3 separate regions of the Homo sapiens genome follow, and regions 1 and 3 are each linked to region 2. Evidence: promoter capture Hi-C in human tissues and cell types (Jung and others, 2019). All regions are on one chromosome and are shown on one strand. The core of a region is centred on a gene start or on the middle of the fragment in contact, and the rest is flanking DNA. Distances in the headings are between cores, read along the strand shown. Region 1 overlaps IQCJ-SCHIP1 (IQCJ-SCHIP1 readthrough). Region 2 holds the start of IL12A (interleukin 12A). Region 3 holds the start of IQCJ-SCHIP1-AS1 (IQCJ-SCHIP1 readthrough antisense RNA 1).

Region 1 (4,244 bases), core at 1,307-3,806, 140 kb before region 2:
TAATTACAGTGTTAATCCCAAGCATGTAGTCAAGGTCTTGCCACCCTGCCTGGAAATGTGGTTTGAAATAGAGGGATAATGGCTGATAATGATTTTTTTTTTCAAGTTCTAGAGCAACCCTTCTACACTTTAAGGTATATTCAAAAATCCTAGGGGTCTCTCTTTTTTTTTAATGCAATTTCTGATTCAGTGGTTCTGGAGTGGGACTGGAGGGCTTACATTTCTAGAAAGCTCCCAGTGCTGTTGATAATCTGCTTGGAGAACACACTTTGAGTAGCAAAACTCTAGAAAGTTTCACAGATAAGTGATGCCACACATAATAGGAAACTCTCAGATATTTTAAGCTGGCACAAGCTATCCTGAAAACGGTGGCACAGCTCCATCTGGAAAGGGTTTGGGCTATGAGCTTATCTACGTGCTGAGCTTCTTTAGGGAGGGTGCACAGTGATGTCACCACCACTGAGAACTGCCCTCAACTGCTTGCATTCATGTTTCAGGAGCAGATGTTCTATCACTTGTCTCTGTATAGTGCTTATTAGAGAACACTTACGACAAAAAAGGAGCTAGCAGGTAGAGGAGTGGAATGGTCTTTTAGTATTCTCAGTACTATTCCTTGTTGCTGTTGTTTTGTTGGGAAATTTCCATCTCGAATTTTGAGGTGCCTCTCTCCAAAAGATAATATATTATCAATGTATGTGTATATACATGTGTATGTATATCATTACTATATTACTAGTACACATATATTAATCTGTATGTATATATACATAATCATGAGAGTTCAGTTTTTCTCATTTTAATTGTATATTTAAGCCCACTCTGTTAAAATTAAAGTAAAAAGATACTAGTAATCAGGCATATCATTTTATGTATCTTACGGAGTCTTGCAGTCTCTAAATTATTATAATTTCATCCATGTTAGCTATCGATTATAGGTTTCTAAGTGGACTACGACATTAACCCAGATAAGAATGAAATTCATATTGTAGCTGAACCCCAAGTGCAGTGGACTGAGGTCTGGAAATCAGTACAGTCATGGAGCCAGGAGCAGAATACTGCTTTGCTGCTACTGTGAAAGAGCCATTTGTATGGTCTTTAGAGCTTTTCAAGCTGTAGTCTGCAGAGTGAGTGGGGTCTGCAGGGTCCTAGGGCTTCCTTTCCACAGAGCTTTCCTGAGAGGCTGTGCTGGGGCTGGGATAATAGGAGAATAGAGCATCCAGGTGGGGTGTGGTAGCCCTCCTCATTCAATCAAAGCAGACCCTTTTTTCCTTTTGAACATATGTGAGTTCCACAGAAGATTTCAGTTGAAAAGCACTATTAATGTTTCCTACTGTGGACAGCATTTAGAGGAAACATTTTAAGCAGCACGTTCATATTTCCTCTGTTCACGTACTTAGTCAACAGCTCTTCATTGTGCGCTTATCGTGTGCAAGGCAGTGTTCTACATGCTATGGGGTAAACAAGATGACAAATCCCTGTCCCCTTAGAAAAGAGCTTGCAACCACAGTGGCTGTTGGAAAGAAGCAACAGTGGTGCTAAAAGACACCAGGTAAACTGGAAAGGAAAATTCATCATATAGCGTACTAGGTTCTGACATCAGTGAAGTAGCTTCCATTTCATTTCTTGAGGCTTCATCAGAAGAGATATGCGACAATACGTGCTGGGTGTTCCAGATGTATGATCTGGAAAATGTTGATTCAGCTCTTGATATTGTTATACAGGGAGCTGTATTAGTCCATTGTTACACTGCTATATAGAAATACCTGGCCAGGCATGGTGGCTTACACCTGTAATCCCAGCATTTTGGGAGGCCAAGGCGGGTGGATCACCTGAGGTCAGGAGTTCGAGACCATCCTAGCCAACATGGTGAAGCCCCGTTTCTACTAAAAATACGAAAATTAGCTGGGCGTGGTGGCGGGCACCTGTAATCTCAGCTACTTGAGAGGCTGAAATCGAAGAATCACTTGAACCTGGGAGGCAGATGTTGCAGTGAGCCAAGATTGTGCCACTGCACTCCAGGCTGGAGATTCCATCTCAAAAAAAAAAAAAAAAAAAAAAAAGGAAATACGTGAGACTGGGTAATTTATAAATAAAAGAGGTTTAATTGGCTCATGGTTCTGCTGGCAGTACAGGAAGCATGGTGGGGGAGGCCTCAGGAAACTTACAATTACGACAGAAGGCAAAGGGGAAGCAGGCACATCTTCACGTGGCCAGAGCAGGAGGAAGGGAAAGAGTGGGGAGGTGCTACACGCTTTTAAACAACCAGATCTCATGAGAACTCTTATCACCAGAGCAGCATTAGGGGGATGGTGCTAAACCATTAGAAACCACCCCCATGGTCCAGTCACCTCACACCAGGCCCTACCTCCAACATTGGTGATTACAATCGAACATGAGATTTTGGTGGGGACACAGATCCAAACCACATATCTGGAGCTCTACTAGATTTGTCTGTGTTGAACTCTAATCTTTAAAAGCTATGCTTGGATGGGCGTGGTGCTTCACATCTATAATCTCAGTACTTTTGGAGGCCAAGATAGGAAGATCACCTGAGCCCAGGAGCTCAAGACCAGCCTGGGCAACATAGTGAGATCCCATCCCTACAAAAAATTTTTTAAATTATCCAGGCATAGTGGTGCACTCCTATAGTCCCTATACTATCTAGTCCCAGCTATTCAGAAAGCTGAGGTGGGAGGATCACTTGAGCCTGGAGGTCAAGGTGGCAGTGAGCCATGATCATGCCATTGCACTCCAGCCTGGGCAACAGAGCAAGAACCTGTCTAAATAAATAAATAAAAGCTATACTTGATTATTTTATTCAGCACAATTATTTCTTACAGAGGCAGCCAGTGTGGGATGGTTAGAGTGTGGGCCACAGAGGCAGAGAGCCCATATTCATCTTCCTTAACCTCACTGAGCTCTTTCATTTTGCTGTAAAACACAATTGATAGTAATATCTACTCCAAAAGATTATTGAGAGGATTAAAGACATATGTAGGAGGAACATATAAAGTGCCTGGCACATAGCAACCCCTCCCTCAATAAAGGGTAGCTGTTAATATATGCCAGGTAAGAAGATGCATGCTTCCTTCATTTTAACTAACCTCCTTTGGCAGGATTTAACATACACAGGGTCCTTCAAACTAGAGCATACTTTAACCCCAAAGTCTTAGCCTTGGTGAATTCTCCTGTATTTTGAGCACCTGCACGGGGCACTGGGAGCAGCAGTCTGTGGCCAGCATTGCCACAGCCCCGGGAAGCATTCTGGGCTGCCTGCATGCAGACAGTGGGACCCCCATCTGGAGTGAGGGTCCTGGGGTTTGAAGGAGAGTAAGACAAGGGAGATCTCTTCCAGGGAAAACCCTGCCCAAATGCAAATGTGGTTCATGAGAGACAACTTGTTATTGTAACATCTGACAAACATGCAATTAATTCTTTTTGGAACTGAGGTGGGGCAATGAGAATGGAGTAAAGGGAAGATTTCACTTTGGTTTGGGGGCTACAGAGGGAAGTATTTGCTTTATAGAAGTAGGGCTATTATAAACTACTTTGAAACACATTTATGCCACAAGTCTTCTACAAATTGAATTTTTAAAAAATGTGGAGAGAAATAAGTAGACACTGAAGGTGAGCATGTCAGCAGCAGTTCAGATGCCAAAAGGTTATCTTGAATAGCCTTTTTGCTTTTAGAACTCTGTTCTTAACAGTATTGTGGTTGCACAAGAATCTATATTGGAAAATTTATTGACTAGTATACTTGCTGCTTTTTATCTAAGCTTGTCAGAGTGTAAGATGGTGTTGCTAAATGAAGGCTTGCCCTTTGAATTCTTTTCTGACCTATTTCTCCTGCAAACAGTAGCTTTATTTTTTGGAAATAAACACTGGGCATAATTTTTAGTTTATGACAGTAGTAAGCTGATTCTGATGAGTGTGTGTTTGTATGTGCACTTCTGCTTGTCTGCTTCTTGCACCAAAACATCCTCCAGCTGTGGGCCTTTTCCCTCTCTTTAGTAAAGCCTGTAAACAAAACCAGAAGCCATGGGAAAAGTGTAAAGAGAGCAGCAGAAAAGAACGTTTGCTTTTGTGAAAAAGCCCGCCACTGCTTGAATTTTAAAGAAAAGTTGATGGATCTTTTTCTGTTGCCTATATTAATAGAACAAAGCACTGCTCCCAGGGCAGAAGGGTCCTTCTCTGTGTTGGAAGTGAATTTCAGTCTCGTCCTGGAGCTCCTACCAGATGAGACT
Region 2 (4,247 bases), core at 1,743-4,242:
TCTTATACTTAATACCCAAATATACAAATCTATCTATAATTTCTCTACTCTGTTTCAATGGTCCATATGCCTGATCTGTTGCAAAGATCACTACTTTAATTTCTATGGCTTTAAATTATGTCCATATGTGATAGGGTTAGTCCCCCTTTTCATTATTCCCTTAGCATTTTTACTTAAGGCCAGGAACAGCAGCTCACGCCTGTAATCCCAGCACTTTGGGAGGCCAAGGTGGGTGGATCACTTGAGCCCAGGAGTTTGAGACCAGCCTAGGCAACAAAACTAGACTCCGTCTCTACAAAATACAAAAATAAAAATTAGCTGGACATGATGGTGTTGCCTGTGGTCCAAGCTACTCAGGAGGCTGAAGTGGGAGGATCACTTTAGCCCAGGAGGTCAAGGCTGCAGTGAGCTGTGACTGTGCCACCACTACACTCCAGCCTGGGTGATACAGTAAAACCATGTCTCAAAAAAAATTTTTTTAACTTAGTCATAGATTTTATTACATCTGTATTTTAGAGTAGGCTTATTATTAAGTTTCTGAGAAAATTTATTTGTAGCTTGTATTGGAATTACATTGAGCATGTGAATTAACGAAAAGAGGCTTAAGCTTTCTATATAGAGAAACCTTCCACCCAAGGGTATAGAATTATTTAATTAAATCACACTATATTCTTGACTGAACTTTAAAATTTTTCTCCAAACACTATTCTGTAGTTATCCAAGCTCATGTAATAATCATAATAACTCTATACTGTAGGTACTTTTATTATCATCATTTAACAGATGAGGAAACTGAGCCCAGAGAGATAAATAACTCACCTAAGAACACACAGCAAGTAAGTAGCAGAACCTGGATTAACATAGTTTAGTCCATACTCTTAGCCATTATACTGCCTCTGTATCTACAGTCAGTTACTTTATAGTTTGGCTGCTTCTATGCATGTCATCTTGTTTTTATTACATTTTCTGATGGATTGTTGCAGATACAAAGAAAATCGGCTGATTTTTTTTAAGTTGATATGTGTATTGCATGATGTTGTTAAATTCTCTTCTTAGTTCTAATAGTCTATTAATTTTTTTTCTTTTTGTATATCAACTGTAAAAAGTGACAGTTTTACCTTTTCTTTTCCAATGTTTAAAGCTCTCATTTCTTTTTCTTTCCTTATAGCATTGGCCGAGACCTCCACGACAATGCTACACACTGTGAAGTAGTGATTGTGAGCTAAGACTGTCACTTATAGAAAAATCATGTATTCCTAGAAGAAGGTTTTCATTTCATCTTAGCTAGAGGACATGGAGCACTTCAGGAAACTATTTCACAAAAATGTAAATTAGAAACTGTGTCTGGTAGCCAATAATCCATTTTTAACAGTGGCCCTGTGCTCATCTAAGCAACAGAAATTACTTTTGTATAGGAGATGGCCCTTCCAGGGGAGAAACAGCTCAGTTGTGATACACTTGTCTTCATCCTGACTTTAAGTACATTTAACTCCACACTAAACCCTTGTGGCCACAACACAGCTCTGCACCTGTCATTTGCTCTAGACAAACTGCTAAACGCAATTGTTTCTGACAATGGATTACTCTGTATCCCGTGGGGGAATTCTCAGACAGCAGCATTAGAAGGGGCCTTAGAGATCAACCATTTCTCTTATTTTACACACACCTAAAACTCCCTACAGCCGTGCTTCATCAGCTTCGAGCAGATGAGCCACCCAGAAGGCAGCTCCAGTTATTAGGTCCTAGGGCCTGGGTGTAGTCAGGCCCTTTGGAAGCTCCAAGTCAGAGATCAAACACATCCTCCCCACTACCCACGCCTAGGGTGACTAATGCCTGTGGGAAAAACAACTGAACTAAAAAGTCCCACAGGAACCTCAAACCCAGCACATCCAAAATGGAACTTCTCACCATCTCCTCCAAACTCAGTCCTCTTATACAGTAATCCCTGTAAAGCTAGAACAATCTCCATTCCCCATTCTCAGGGCCTTCCTCTCCCGCTCACCTGAGGAGCTACCAAGCCTTGGCCCACAAGCCCTCTGAGAGTCCCTCCTGCCCACCCTGTGTTCTCCATACTGAATAAGGACTTGGCCACACCTTGTCAACTCTTCCCTCTGCTCTACTCCTGACCCCTGGATCCATCCTTCATGCTGTGGCTGAAGGGATCCCCCCATCATGCAAATTCTGCCACATCTCCCGCCTAAAACCCAGGAAGACTCCCCACTACTCTCAGCACAGAAAGTACACTCCTTAGTATGGCATCCCCTGCCCTCATGGCATGGCCCCATCCAGCCCTCCAGCCTCACACCCTGCAAGGACACCTAGACCCCCACCTCCCTCAACCCTTCATGACTGCGCTTCTGATCCCTGTTTCCCCTGGCTAGACCCTGCGTGCCCTCCCGCTGGAAGCGGTCTAATGCCTGCTTGTTTTTAACACTCAGGTTGGGGCCCCTGCCTGCTCCCGGGAGCCTTTGCTGACTCCTGGACCCCGTTGCTCCGGCTGAGCGTGGGCTCTTTCTCTAGGTCTTTCCTCCCAGGACTCTGTGTATTCATCCTATCGTTAAACTGGATTCTCTACAAGAGTAATAATTGCAGAGTCAGCCAGCTCTCATCCCTTTTCAGGTTTCAGAAAAGACCTGTGAACAAAACGCCTTGAGTCTGATTTAGTGTGGCAATGCCCCAAGGGTCCTGTTCTCCCTGGGTGTCCTGCACCTGGTGCAACGTCGGCCTGGCATCTAGTGAGCCATCTAAAGGAACGATGATGAGTGAATGATTTGCCTACCCCTTCCAGTACTAGGCTGGAGGTCGTGGTTAGGGCCCATCCCTACGCAGGACATGCAAAGTGGGAGGCACTCCTCTCTCTACGTCGGCAGGGGGCGCTGCACAGCTGCGGGGCGGGGTAGCTTAGACACGGGGCGTCCGGCTAAGGCCGGGGACCCAGGGTGGTGGGCGGGGTGTCCCGCCCGCCTGTGGACCCCGCGCAGTAACTGCGAACATTTCGCTTTCATTTTGGGCCGAGCTGGAGGCGGCGGGGCCGTCCCGGAACGGCTGCGGCCGGGCACCCCGGGAGTTAATCCGAAAGCGCCGCAAGCCCCGCGGGCCGGCCGCACCGCACGTGTCACCGAGAAGCTGATGTAGAGAGAGACACAGAAGGAGACAGAAAGCAAGAGACCAGAGTCCCGGGAAAGTCCTGCCGCGCCTCGGGACAATTATAAAAATGTGGCCCCCTGGGTCAGCCTCCCAGCCACCGCCCTCACCTGCCGCGGCCACAGGTCTGCATCCAGCGGCTCGCCCTGTGTCCCTGCAGTGCCGGCTCAGCATGTGTCCAGCGCGCAGTGAGTACTCAGCCCGCCAGGTCTTTGGCTCGCTCGGGTGCGGAGGGGCGGCTGCTTGGGAAGAGTGGGTAGAAACTCAAGTCTGCCTAAGGAGAGACTGGAACAGCAGCAGCCGTCTCCTGCAAAGAGGAATAAGAATAGGGGTCTCACCGTGTGCTAAATAGGGCATGTCTCTTTTCATCTCGAAACAGCCTGATGAGCTATCATTATGCCCACTTCGTAGAGGAGAAACTGAGGCCCAGCGTGGGAGATTTCCTGCTTTCCTGCCTAGGGTCCCTCAGCTACAAACAGAAGGCAGATCCTAGCCAGTTCTAAAGTCAGGCTTGGCCGGGTGCAATGGCTCACGCCTGTAATCCCAGCACTTTGGGAGGCCAAGGCGGACAGATCTCCTGAGGTCAGGAGTTCAAGACCAGCCTGACCAACATGGTGAAACCCCGTCTCTACTAACAAATACACAAATTAGCCGAGTGTGGTGGTGGGTGCCTGTAATCCCATCTACTCGGGAGTCTAAGGCAGGGAAAATTGCTTGAACTCGGAGGTGGAGGTTGCAGTGAGCCAAAATCGTGCCACTGCACTCCAGTCTGGGCCACAGAGTGAGACTCCGTCTTAAAAAAACAAAAAAAGTCAGGCTTTCTCACTCCACTGTTTTTAAAACACTGGGTCCCAAGTCTGACTCAGCCACTTCACCACCTGGTCTGGGTTTCCCTGATCAAAAACATGTAGGCTTTCTCTGGGTGAGTGTTGGGTTCAACACCCTTGTCCAAGCTCATCTCTAGACCCTCACAGGGAGCTGGCTTCTAGCCCTAGAATAGAGTGGCGCTTTGTAATAACTCGAGTCATCTCTCAGGTGTTGAAGGAAAAGTGTTGGAAATGGGTTGAGGGAGGTGGGTGCCAAGCATGAATGGATGGGTGAAG
Region 3 (4,437 bases), core at 295-2,794, 220 kb before region 2:
CGCGGCCCGGCGGCTGGGGGGCTCTGCCTTCAGCCCCCAGACGGCGGGACGTGCGTCCCCGAAGAGCCCCCGGTGCCACCTATGGATTGGGAGGCGCTGGAGAAGCATCTGGCCGGGCTGCAGTTCCGGGAGCAGGAGGTACGGAACCAGGGCCAGGCGAGGACCAACTCCACCTCCGTAAGTTGGCCGGGGTGCGTGCCCACGCGCGCACACACGCGTACACACCCCGCGCACAGCCCGCACGCCCCCTCCCTGCGCTCCCGCCCGCCCGCGGCCCCATTCATTCTTCCTCGAGGGTGGGGGCCAGGCCAGAGAGCCTGCCGTCTGCTCCCCTGGGGATAAGGTTGCTCGGTCTGTGAGCTGTCTGGGTTTGCAGGATGGGCGGAGAGGAAGGAGGAGCAGCCAGAGGGCAGCGGAAAGTCGGGTTAGTGGAACCGGCGACTCATTTTAATGGAATTACTTATGGAGACCAGGTTGTGAGTCACTTGCCTGAAAATAAATCCGGGGAGATTCTGGCACCAAAAGTCAGTGCCTGCGGGGGATATTTCAAATCGTAATAGTTGTGGCTTTGTCAATCGTGGTGGCTCTCCTCTCGTTGCCACTAATGTCTCATCCATATATAGGCTTGTTCCTATGCACACGCACACATTCGCCTGCCCACACCACCGGTCTGGCAGCGGGGTTCGTTCCGTCTTGTGTTAAGCAGATGCTCCTGTATTTGAATGGGTTGATTTTCCTCCTCTAAGACTTTCTTCCTTTATGAAACCCGAGTTATTGTTGACCTGGGGGAACGGGGTAAATGGACCTGTCAGGATAAGGGAGGGGTTCTTCCCTCGGTCGCCTGACTCACTCCCTCTGCTGTGAATCCCTCCTTGTTTTGATAACGGAGCCACTTACAGTTTCTTCCCGGAGGCTACTGCCTCAATTCAGGAAAGCCAGACAGGGAGGGGTGCTGGAGTGGAAAAGAGGGAGGGAGGAGAGGAGGGCTGCATCTATAATAAGAAGCACTGGCAGGTTCACACTTGTCTCAACATCTTTTTTGCCCCTGAGAGAAGAGCAGATAAATGACTTAAAAGAAAACCATCATGAAGGTAGCTCCCCTGTTTAGCACTGCTTTGAGATAAAGCAACAGTTGTAATTTGAAATCATTAATGATGACCCTAATTAGGGCTGAAGGGCGTAGTTGAAAGGAGCTGCTTTCTGTGTGTGGCAGCTGTGTGGCAGGTGGGAAAATGCTTGCCTTGCGGGTGTAATTTTTGCGACACCAGGACCCCGGGGCTCCTGAAAATTGGGTGCATGCACTTCTGACTTCAGGGGTGAGGATGGTAACTGTGTTTCACAGAGAAATTGCCATGGTTCTATCAGAGAGCGCCCTTGGCTGACAGAGCCTGCTGGTTAGTTTCCCTTGGGAAACTACTTAATAAATTAGCATACTCATTTTAATTCCAGCTGTTTAGGAGTTTACCATGGCCATTAACAGACGTGGAATCTTTCCATTACAGTCAATACTATCTCTTATACCTTGCAATAGAAAATATCCTTTTCCCACTTTGTGCTTGAGAAAAATACCTCATTAATACCTGGGCTTGAACAATGAGTGGGAAATAAGCAGGAGGTTAGTTTGCTATTGCGTGACATTTATACATTCCAGGAAAATTTAGTACTTGGGTATACATGCAAAGTTAGGGTTTGATGGTGACAATGAGCTCCATTATTCAAAAGTTGTGGAACAAATTGTTTTTGAGCACCCATGTATGTGCTGTGTGCCAGGGATGGTTCTGAGTGCTGTAGTTACACATCAGTCCACATGGGGCTGAAATTCTGGTGAGGGAAGGGTAGGGATACAGACTGCCTTCCCTCCAGGAACTTAAAATTTGATGGCTTACCTAGCACCACCTCATACCCCCACCCCCAACGCATCTTCTGGTTATTGTGAAGACTATGAATCTTTCCTTCTTGGGCAGTCTTTGAAACCAATGGTGTATCCTCACCTAGTGAACAGTTTGCATATTTGCATATTTGGGTTTCTTTCCTTCACTTCCAGCTTTCCTGGAAATGCCCCTTCTGGTCATTTCCTCTACAAGTTACACAGAGAAATTTAGATTTCATTGTGTCAAAGCAAGGATGTATACAGAAAAAAGGGAGAAGGAGGTAGCATTTGAGGTTAATGGTGGATTTTTTCATGTTTTGGTTTGTGTTTGAACAAAATTACTAGTCAGTGTTGGTTTAGAATACTGTTTTTCAAACAGTAAGTTTCCCATGAAATCACCTTAGCATTTAAAAAAATGAAATAAAATAGAATGTATGATAGTGTATTGCAGGGAGTCATAGTAAAGTTGGTAATTTTTAAAACTTTAGTTTTATATGTATGGTGGGTTGCAACATAAAGTTTACTTCTCACTATGGGTCGCTGTTATAAAAGATTGAAAAGCACTGATTTAAATCCTGTTTAGTGCTGCCTGGAGTACGTAAGGGAATTTATGACCATGAGGACAGAAACCGGAGAAGAACAAAGGAGCCGTGTGGAAGAGAAGGCCTGCCTTGAAGGAACTGTTCAAATCCAATGATATTTTACTCCTCTTTAAAATGTCTTGTATGAATATATTTAAGTGGCATTAATACACACCACTAGGAATGGGGTATACAATGAAAAGGGGATAGCTTCTCTTCACCAAGTAAGCCTATTCCTACTTCAGGGCTTTTGCCCTTCTGTAACCTCTGCTTGGAAGCAAGTGTCTGGTTCCTTCTCATCATTCCAGACTCAGTTCAACTCTCACCAGCTCAGAGAAGCTGTCCCCCACCACCCTTCCTAAAGTAAAGTAACAGCACTGCACCCCAACTCCAGCACTCCTGGTGTATTGTTTTCTTAGTGCTTGTCACTATCTGACATTATCTTATTTAGTCCTCTATTTTTGGTCCCTCTGAAATGTAGGCGGGAGTTCTTGCCTGTTTTTTAACTCTATAACCTATTGCCTGGAACATGCCTGGGATGGAGTAGGTTCTCAAATATTGAATGAATGAATGAATGAATGTTTATGACAACAACACAACCCATACCTAATCCAACTCCCATTTTACAGTTGAGAAAATTGAAGCCCAGAGAGGTTAAGTGATTTGCCTCAGACCCAGTGAGAAACTTATGAACAGGGTTTTGTTCTTTCTTGTGACACCAGACTAGTTCCCCGCCCCCTTTTTTAATGCTTAAAATAATTTGAAATAAAAGGAAAGGAAGGAGCTCCCACCTCCCTGAAACTTAAAGGGTTTCCTATTGACAAGTCTCTTATTGCACTTCCTTAGAATTAAGGACATAAGTAAACTGGGAAATCATCAAAACCCCCTTACTTATGAGTCTTCTTTTGTAGACAGGGTTTTGTATTGTTTTGTTTCAATGACATACTATTGGGTTCTGCAGAGCAGGGTAGTGACAGAATCCATGTCTCCTCACTCCACATCCAGTGCTCTTTCCTTCCTCTTAGTTGTGGTGATGCACGCAGAAGGATGACTGAGGTCTCAAAAATGGGATGACAATCAGCTATCCCTAATTCAGATAAGATTGAGAGGCAAATTTAAAAATGCACAATGTTTAGGTGGGATTTAAAACCTAGCACTGACCTTCACTTTGCGATGGGTTTAGAAAACTAATCTCTCTCTTGGTATCTGTGGAGGATGATGAGCTTGGATGCTGTCAGGAACTATCTTTGGTGTCACAGCATGGAAGGGCCTGGGGAGTCCTGATGGAAACACTCTAGTGACTGGATCCTTGCTCCATCTCAGAGCTGGGGGCTCAAGACAGACCTCCAGCACCTGGTCCAGCCCTCCACTGTGATGTCATCACCTGGGACAGCCATATCCCCAGTAGTTCGCATTGTGCCTGGCACAAATAAATGCTTGAAACATGCAGAGAGGGTGAGGGGCTCTACCCAAAAACCAGAACTACTCCCAGAAGTGCCCCTTCCATGGGCAGCCCCTGCTCATCTGGTGTCAGTGTGCTTCTCACAGTCCTGCCCTGGGCTTGTATTCCGTCTTGTGCGTGAACACTCTTAATAAATTCAAGGGCCATAGATGGAGTAAAGAAAGGTTCTGGGGTTGGTGCCTTTGATGTCAGATTAGGAGTCCTGCTTGCAGAAGTTCATGTTTCTCTTAAATTCTTATCTTCTTGCCTACTCTAACTCTGGTGCACAGGACTGGACAGTTTTCCCTCTTATGAGAGCGGGCCACAAACAGTCGGCTTTCTCTCTTCTGCTTCTCCAGGACCTTAGTGCATCACTGTAGCCCTCTTGCTCCTGTTCAAAAGGCTCTGTGGACCTGTTGCCAAGTGGGGTGGGAGGGGGGGCACTGCCTCAGTGTACTCTTCCTCCTAAATGGAATATAATTACACATCTTTTTCTCTGTGTTTGTCCCTGAGGCTTCCTGTCCTTCATGGGACGTGTTCCTCCA

The links. Contacts are between HindIII fragments. The study calls those that stand out against the background at their distance.
Region 1: a contact is called between a fragment that was not itself captured here and the fragment with the promoter of IL12A in region 2, in 1 of the 25 tissues and cell types used here (hippocampus).
Region 3: a contact is called between a fragment that was not itself captured here and the fragment with the promoter of IL12A in region 2, in 1 of the 25 tissues and cell types used here (heart right ventricle).

What each region holds. Positions count from the first base shown.
Region 1 is chr3:159,848,507-159,852,750 of GRCh38, forward strand. The region is part of intron 4 of IQCJ-SCHIP1 (IQCJ-SCHIP1 readthrough); the gene reads left to right. The region is part of intron 2 of SCHIP1 (schwannomin interacting protein 1); the gene reads left to right. All of the region lies in intron 2 of LOC124906299 (a long non-coding RNA gene), which reads right to left. Among named protein-coding and RNA genes, the nearest start is that of IQCJ-SCHIP1-AS1, 82 kb to the left of the region's middle. The HindIII fragment of the contact is 4,469 bases long and covers 323-4,244 here.
Region 2 is chr3:159,985,843-159,990,089 of GRCh38, forward strand. It overlaps IL12A (interleukin 12A), which reads left to right and starts at 2,993. Exons shown (of 7, transcript NM_001397992.1): 1 at 2,993-3,332. The coding sequence starts at 3,317. IL12A-AS1 (IL12A antisense RNA 1) reads right to left here. Exons shown (of 10, transcript NR_108088.1): 9 at 3,255-3,451. RefSeq lists enhancers at 652-1,851, 2,703-3,203, 3,204-3,704, 3,204-3,253 and silencers at 2,764-2,963, 3,034-3,083. The HindIII fragment of the contact is 7,471 bases long and covers 1-4,247 here.
Region 3 is chr3:159,764,962-159,769,398 of GRCh38, forward strand. The region is part of intron 4 of IQCJ-SCHIP1 (IQCJ-SCHIP1 readthrough); the gene reads left to right. It overlaps SCHIP1 (schwannomin interacting protein 1), which reads left to right. Exons shown (of 8, transcript NM_014575.4): 2 at 1-177. IQCJ-SCHIP1-AS1 (IQCJ-SCHIP1 readthrough antisense RNA 1) reads right to left here and starts at 3,651. Exons shown (of 3, transcript NR_121669.1): 1 at 3,613-3,651; 2 at 3,343-3,538; 3 at 421-782. The HindIII fragment of the contact is 9,433 bases long and covers 1-4,437 here.